Linked DNA regions of Homo sapiens: region 1 is linked to region 2. The links are contacts of gene promoters, found by promoter capture Hi-C in human tissues and cell types (Jung and others, 2019). All regions are on one chromosome and are shown on one strand. Each heading gives the region's core, a stretch centred on a gene start or on the middle of the fragment in contact. The rest is flanking DNA. Distances are from core to core; before and after follow the strand shown. Region 1 has its middle 3.7 kb from the start of PPIE. Region 2 holds the start of CAP1 (cyclase associated actin cytoskeleton regulatory protein 1).

What was found. Contacts are between HindIII fragments. The study calls those that stand out against the background at their distance.
Region 1: a fragment that was not itself captured here is called in contact with the fragment with the promoter of CAP1 in region 2 in 1 of the 25 tissues and cell types used here (dorsolateral prefrontal cortex).

The regions. Positions count from the first base shown.
Region 1 is chr1:39,733,041-39,737,226 of GRCh38, reverse strand. No RefSeq gene overlaps it. Among named protein-coding and RNA genes, the nearest start is that of PPIE, 3.7 kb to the left of the region's middle. The HindIII fragment of the contact is 4,491 bases long and covers 1-4,186 here.
Region 2 is chr1:40,039,123-40,043,002 of GRCh38, reverse strand. It overlaps CAP1 (cyclase associated actin cytoskeleton regulatory protein 1), which reads right to left and starts at 2,274. Exons shown (of 13, transcript NM_006367.4): 1 at 2,202-2,274. It overlaps LOC105378669 (a long non-coding RNA gene), which reads left to right and starts at 2,557. Exons shown (of 3, transcript XR_001738013.3): 1 at 2,557-3,880. RefSeq lists enhancers at 1,975-2,064, 2,135-2,334, 1,988-2,622, 2,585-2,654, 2,623-3,256. The HindIII fragment of the contact is 19,514 bases long and covers 1-3,880 here.

The DNA of each region.
Region 1 (4,186 bases), core at 873-3,372, 310 kb after region 2:
GCTCACATCATTTTAGACAGTGCTCTGACACTAGGCCCAGGATGGGTTGATTGGAACCCAGGAGACCAGGAAGTTAATGTAGTAGACTAAGGAAGAGTTGATAGTGGCTCTGTTCCTCCAATCCACTTGTCCAGGGTGATTTTTTTTTTCTTTTTTTCTTTGAGACAGGGTCTTGCTCTCTTACCCAGGCTGGAAGGCAGTGACATGATCATGGTTCACTGCAGCCTCAACCTCCCAGCCTCAAATGATCCTCCCACCTTAGCCTCCCGAGTAGCAGCTGGGAGTACAGGTGCACGTCACCATGCCCAGCTAATTTTTTTTTTTTTTTTTTTTTTTTAGAGACAGGGTCTTGCCATGTTGCCCAGGCTGGTCTCAAACTCCTGGACTCAAGCGATCCTCCTGCCTCGGCCTCCCAAAGTGCTGGGATTACAAGTGTGAGCCACTACACCCGGCCTAGGGTTATCTTTCTTCAAAATAAACCTAAATTCTCTAGAACTCCCTACCTAAATCACTGATGCTGCTAACAAGGTCCTTGACAAGGGGTCCATGCCTACCTCAAGTCAACCCTGACCTCCACATCAGTTCCTCACCTACTTACCATGGGCTCTTTTTCCTTGCCTCTGCTTTTGCTCATTGAGTTCTTTCTTTTCTCCATCTGGAGGCACCCACCAGTCCTTGTCAGAGGTCCTAGTTAAGCTTCACTCACCCAAATCCCCTATAGACAGAGTCCATAGTCCCCAAGTTCAGAAGTCAATTGGAATACACCCTATAACTATAGTCAGGTATGTCTCTCTCTCCCAGTAGATGAAGGTATTTGACACCACGGCCTGTACCCATTGTATTCCCAGAGCTAAGCAGTGGCTGCGCACACAGCTGACCTTACCAACCTCATGCCAAACCAGGGAGTTGATACTTATAGGAATGAGGCTGTGAGATCTGATTAGGAGAGCTCTTTGTGTACCCGTCACTATTCCAAAACAAAAGGTCACTCTCAGGAAGAATCTGACCAGGCGTCCTTTATGTGGTGTGGTATAATAAAAAATAGATACTTGGTCTTTGTCCTAGTTCCTGGCACAGAGCTTCTAAAATCATTGGAATATCCTGAGTGCTGTGTCTTTTGTTATTCATAATGAGCCCATTTTGACCCTACCTAAGTTTGTGCTAAGCAGATGACTCAAGGTAGAACCCCTAGCTCGCTTCAGGATGGGGGTTGGTCATCAGAGAAACCAACCATGTGATTAGAGGGTTGGGACTTCCAGCTCCCGCCTCCAACCTCTGAGGAGAGGAGGGGGTTGGAAATTGGGTTCAATCACCAACACCCAGTGGTTTAATCAGCCATGCCTAGGTAATGAAACCTCATATAAACACTCTAAATGCGGTTTGGGGAGTTTCCAGGTTGGTGAATACATTGATGTGCTTGGAACACAGCATGCCTAGAGAGGGCATGGAAGCTCACCAGCCCCTCTCCATTCCCACCTTGCCCTGTGCATCTCTTCCTACAATCTTTACAGCCAAGTTTGAATGCATTGTTTGGATAAGGAGGAACAAATGTCTCCTGTGGGGAAGATAGTTCATAAAAAACCAAACGGAATCTCAGTAACCTTGGTGTCTGCGTCAGCACCAGCTTCTGGCCCTCTCTTCTTTCGTAGGCGCGTGGGTCACTCACTCAGCACCTGCTTCTGTTCTTGGGAAAGTGCTGCCGCCAGCATGGAGGCAGTCAGGGGTTCCTGGCCTGCACATGGACAGCAGGCTGGGGTGCCTGGGAACCAGGAGAAGCAGTGGGTTAGCACCCAAGGAAAGGACAGCACTCGATGGTGGTCAAAGTTAGGACACTCCAACCACTCGACACCTGAATGCTACCATTCAGAATCCAGGCGAAGGGGAGAAGTAATGGTTTTTGACCAAATTCAGCGCATTTTGAGGGGAGTGGTGGTGATATAAAACTGTATAGATTCTCCATCGCGCTCAGTGCCTCACGCCTGTAATTCCAGCACTTTGGAAGACGGAGGCGGGTGAATTTCTTGAGCTCAGGAGTGTGAGACCAGCCTGGCCAATATGGCAAAACCCTGCCTCTACTAAAAACACAAAAATTAGCCAGGTGTGGTGGTGTCTGTCTGTAGCTTCAGCTACTCAGGAGGCTGAGGCAGGAGAATCACTTTAACTCAGGAGGCGGAGGTTGCAGTGAGCCGAAATTGTACCACCGCACTCCAGTCTGGGTGGCAGAGTGAAATTCTGACTCAAAAAACTAACTATGAAGCTGAGTGTGGTGGCTCACACCTATAATCCAAGCAATTTGGGAGGCCGAGGTGGGCGGATTGCCTGGGGTCAGGAGTTCAAGACCAGCCTGGCCAACATGGTGAACCTCTGTCTCTACTAAAAACACGAAAATTAGCTGGACGTGGTGGTGTGCACGTGTAGTCCCAGCTACTCGGGAGGCTGGGGCGGGAGAATCACTTGAACTCGGGAGCCAGAGGTTGCAGTAAGCCAAGATGGCACTACTGCACTCCAGCCTGGGTGATAGAGTAAGACTCCATCTCAAAAAAACATCCAAACAAACAGAAAAACTGCATAGATTCTCATCATATGTATAATAACATGCAACATAATTAGAAAGGGAAGGTGAAAAGAGCCCATCCAGAGCACACCTACTCTTCGTTGAGCCTAGTGCTAGGGAGATATTTCCACAGACATTTAGTTGTCACAAACTTGAGATAGAGATTATCTCCCCATTTTACCCAGGCCACCCAGGGAGGTCAAGCAATTTACTCACATTAGCAAAGTAATAACTGAGTATTTAATTTGTTGATTGAATATATAAAGCTCCAGTAACTATCTTTAGCAGTACAGCTTTTTTCTAAGGACCACATTATCCCCTTTGGAGGGATGCCCAGAAGTGACTGGATCAAAAGGTGTAAATACCAAAACAGTTATAATTATTATATGCCATAATGCCTCTTTCATTAAATGCTCTAGAAACATTAGCATATGATGTCAGTGATGAGCTCCAGTCTAGAAGTAGGTCCCTGAAGGCAGCAGAAAGGCTTCGTATCTTTTCATGTGGCATTAAGGTTTGGAAATCGCTTTAGAAAGCTTTAAGTAGGTGAAATGAATAGGAGTGTGGGAAGCATCATTCTCCTGTATTTCTGAGGGGAGCATTTAGACATCATAGTCACACTTAGCACAATTTGTATTTGCATTTTCTTTTTATTTTTTTGAGACAGAGTCTCACTCTGTTACCCAGGCTGGAGTGCAGTGGTGTGATCACGGCTCACAGCAGCAGCCTCAAGCCTCAACCTCCTGGACTCAACCTCCTGCCTCAGCCTCCCGAGTAGCTGGGACTACTGACTAGCGTGCACCATCACACCTGGCTAATTTTTCTATTTTTTTGTAGAGATGGGGTTTTGCCACATTGCCCAGGCTGGTCTCAAACTCCCGGGCTCAAGCGATCCTCCCACCTCAGCCTCCCAGAGTGCTGGGATTACAGGCATAGCATAAGCCACAGTGCCTGGCTGCATTTACATTTTTTAAAATATTCAAAACTAGAGGACGCATTTACTTTTTAAAACCCCTTCTCTCCAACCAGAGAAAGAGCATTTTGAAAGTGGGACCATGTCAGTTTGCTTACCACTGTAATCCCATACCACTGCACAATTCCTTGGTATTTAGTAGACTTTTAATACCTGATGAATGAAATACAGAAAACCTTCTTGCAAATAAAGTTGAAATGGAAAATTCTATTCTTAGCACATTGGGTGCCTGGGCTCCACTACAGAGGCTGAATCACAGGCCGTGGGCTGCCAACATCGGAGGTGTATTTATACAGAGCAACAGCACAAGGAGGAGCAGTGAGCGTGAGTGTGGTGGCACAGGTGCTACATGCCGCACAGCTGCAGGATTCCCAAAGAAAAGAACAAACCCAGTTCAAGTTCGTCACTCTTAGCAACCGCAGTCTCCAAGAGTCTTCCTGGATTCTTAACTGAGTCAGTGTTTGTATCATGGAGACTGTTTGAGGGACTAGAAGCTAAAACATTCTATCTGCCACTCAGTGACACTTTTCTTCGCTGATAGCAGGAGGGACAGATGTCCAAGTCTGCCAAAATCTAGGGCTGTTTTTCTGCCTTACACCACAACTTCATAGGGCTGCATTTACCAGTGCCCTAAACTCTAGTGTCTTAGGTCTGGCAGG
Region 2 (3,880 bases), core at 1,025-3,524:
ATTCAAAATGCATTTTTTCCCATGTCACTTCCCTAATTTACCTCTCATACTCTCTATCTGAATGGTACTACCCATTCAGTTCCCTAAGCCAGAAAGCCAGGCAATCGCGCTATTCTTACCTCTTCATTCCCATAATCAGCCTCCAATTCTATGGATTCTATCTTCTTAATATTGCTCACATCTGATGCCTCCTCTCCATTCCCATTTCCACTGTCTTAGTTCAGGCCATGTCTACAGCAAGAGCTTCCAAACACTGTTTTACTTCCCCACAGGGCTGGTCCCCTCCTACTTGACAGAATGAACTTTCTGAAATATAAATCTGACGACATCATTTTCCTGCATAAAACCCTTCAAAGCATCTCCATAGCTTTCAGGGTAAAAATCCAAATTCCTTAGCATGACTTACAATGTCCTCCACATATGACTGACCTGACCACATCTCACTTCCTCCACTTCCCCAGCCATTACTAGAATTCCAGTCACACTGAACTCGTCATGGTCTTTCAGCTGTCCGGTTCTCCAGGTCCTTGCACCTGTAGTAGTCTCTGCCTGGAAATCCCTTTTCCGGATTCCCTATGTAGCTAAATAAATATTTCAAGAGTTAGCCTCCCATTTCCTCCTGGAACCCTGGGCACCTGGCTCAGGTATTTCTCCACTGTGCTCTTGTAGCCCTGTGCTATGCACTATGACACTGTAAGCCATCCCTCATTTACTTGTCTATTTCCTCTCCCACTGTAAACTCCAGAAGAACTGTATTCTTTGCCACAAAGGCTATCTCATTAAAATGTGCCTCATACATATTAAGGTCTTAATAAACGTCTGGTGGGGCCGGGCACGGTGGATCATGCCCGTAATCCCAGCACTTTGGGAGGCCGAGGTGGGGGGATCACCTGAGGTTAGGAGTTCGAGAGCAGCCTGGCCTTCACGGCGAAACCCCATCTCTACTAAAAATACAAATAAATAAATTAAATAAAAGTCTGGTAAATGATAAATGTGCTGATATGCCCCCGGATTTTCTCTTGAAGAGAGAGCCCCACAAAGAGCTTCAACTGACACAGTTCTGATGCTAACCTGTCTCAAATGTTCTCATTCCACTCTTCGAACGCATTCCTATTTATCCTTCAAAATTCATCTTAAAAACTCTGCTTCTTCAGAAGGGCTTTTCCTGAACCCCCTGTTACATACTTTCAGAGCACCCTGTTCTTTCCTAACACTCATCAACATTTATAATTACTTCTTAAACATCCCTGCAAACACTGCTAGCTCCACGCGGGCAGGGTCTACATTGTTTTGTTTTAAAGCTGCATTCCCCGCATCTGGGAAAATGCTGGCACAGAATAAACACAATTTGTTACGCTGAATTTAATCTTGTGGGGTCAGCAGAGATCTCCACTTAAAAGATGAACAAAAGGAGGCTGAAAGAAGTTTAAGGCACCTATGGCCACAGACACTCAGCACTGAGGCCAGACCAAACCTGAGCCGTCTGATTTCAGGTCCAGAAGTACATACCTTCAATGTTAGCCTGGCTTGTCAAAGTAAGAGCAGCAGCCGAGGAGGAAAGGGAGGATATCTGCCTGTAAATACAAGGATGTGCCCGCCTTTCTTTTAAAAACTCCCTAGGCATTTCAAACGGCTCAATTTGGGAGGAGAGAAAAAAAAAAGTTCCACGCAGCGCTGGCCTTTAACCTGCAGCAGCCTGCGGGGCAACACCGACCGGAAGACCATCCCAAGTTAGAGAGGTTCCGAGCAACACGGGAAGAACTGGGGCTGGTTATCTAAGGCACCAGGATCATGATTCCGATTCTTTTCCTCACTCGCTATATATCTCAGACTAGCCTCTTCTCTAGGGATCAATTTACCTATCAGTGCAATGGGAGCATCAACAGGAGACAGGGAAGACTCTCCGATCTCGGAGGTTCCTTCCAGTCAGAGCACCTCAGGAATCAGGCCTCCGCTGAAGCTGATGGGCAGCGCTGCGAAATCGGGCAGAGGGGCCTCCCCGGGGCACCCGGACTCAGCTGCTCACCCCGGCCCCACCTCAAGAGACCGCGCCCAAGAGTCCGGGTCGGCCTGAGGGCCTCAGCCCCGGCCCTCTCGGCAGGGTTCATGACACGCGCGTAGGCCAGAAGGGCCATTAACACCACCAGGGGCCGATGGGCCCCGGAAGGGACCCCAATCCCTACCAAGCTGCACACCCTCACCTCAGAGTTCCGCCTCACCTCCGGACTGCGATCAGCCGCTCTCCGCTTCCGGCAAGAACCGCCCAGCAATCTCCGCGCGACCCACTTCCGGGCCCTCACTGGGCGCGGCGCCCCCACCGGAAATGAGCCGCCGGCTGAAGCGCTAGGCTGGCCCGCGACTGGGCAGGAAGTCTCACCGCCCCGCTCGTGACTCCGCCCCTCTTCGCCACGCCCCGGAGAGAGCGGCCCGGCTCTCACAGAGGGCACTTGGGAAAGAGCCCCGCCCTCAAGGCGGGAGCGACACGGGGAGGGCGGGCTCACAAGAGAGGCCACGCCCTCGTTCCGCTTTACCTACCCGGAATCGCCCCCGAGGCCCGGGCCCAGGAAGGGCAGAAGTCCCTGGCTAAGCTCCTCTCTGGAAAGAACAGAAGAGTGACCAGTTCCTCTGTCAGTTTGGTCTCAATGGCAGAGGCCGGTTCCTTTAAGCTGCAGTCCGTAAAGGGTCTTGGAACGACTGGGGGCCAGGATTCTCTGAGGGCGGGAATCCGGGCGGCCGTCAGCTCTCGGTGGTGATCGAGGCCACGCTCCGCCTGTCTCTGGGCGTGCATACCTCGGTTTCCCCGTTTGTGACGTGGGAAGGCAATTAGTCTGGACATTGTTGTGGGAGGACTTGCGGAGACTGGGCGCAGGGCGTGGGGGTCAGTGAGGGCGCGGTGGGTCAGCCCCAGCCCGGCTGGCAGTCGCGGGGCTGGGAAGGTAGGGAACCCTCCGCTCTCACCCCACTTCCTGTTTGGTCGGTGTGTTCTGTGACCATAGATGGTCAAGTCTGGGGCCGCGCGGAAGCCTCCGCCCTGTGGTTTTGGAGCCCTTCCTCCCGGCGCGCAGGGTGTGGTCCCCGAGAATAAGATGAGCAGAATTAAAGCAGATCCTGCACCCACTCTGCTGAAATCCGGCTTCTGAGGCAGCCTCGCCCAGGGCTGGGTGGGCTCAGGCGGCTGCTACTCGGTTCAGGGGAGGTTACGCACGGTGGCTGCCGCGCGCAGGGGAGGCTTCGCTTCCGTACTCCTTGGGCCGGGAGATCCGATCTTTGTTCCCTCAAGACTCACACTCTCCAACCGGTCATTATCCTCCCACAAAGATTTATTTCTAGAAAAAATTGGCAAGTGCCACAGTTCCCGCCCCTTCAGCTGAACGACTGTGACAGCTCCGTGTTTCAAGTTGAATGCAGGCGTTATGTGCCAGAGTCAATCATTCAACAAATAAAGTTCTTAAAATAACAGCTACCATTTACTGCACGCTGACTACTTGCCAGGCCCATGCTGAGTTCTTCAAGCGTATTTTCATTTACTCCTAATAGCAACTCTCGGTGGTAGGTACCATTATGCCCTCTAGTTTTCAAATGAGGAAGCTGAATAACTTGCCAAGGTCAGAAAGTAACTGTTGAAACTTTGAAGGAAACACATCTGTCTGACTCTAAATCCCATGAGCTTAATTAGCCCCTGTGATAGACCATACTGCAGACATTTGAGGCAGATTTGAGGTGGTGAATGCCTCTGGATCTGGAGACACTGGGTTCCAGTGCTGGCATAGGCCCTCTACTAGGGGTCAGACTTTGGTCAGGTTACTTTGGACGGGTTACTGGGCCTCTTCCTAACTTTATGGCTCCCAGCATGTTTAAAAGAACATGACAACATGAAAAA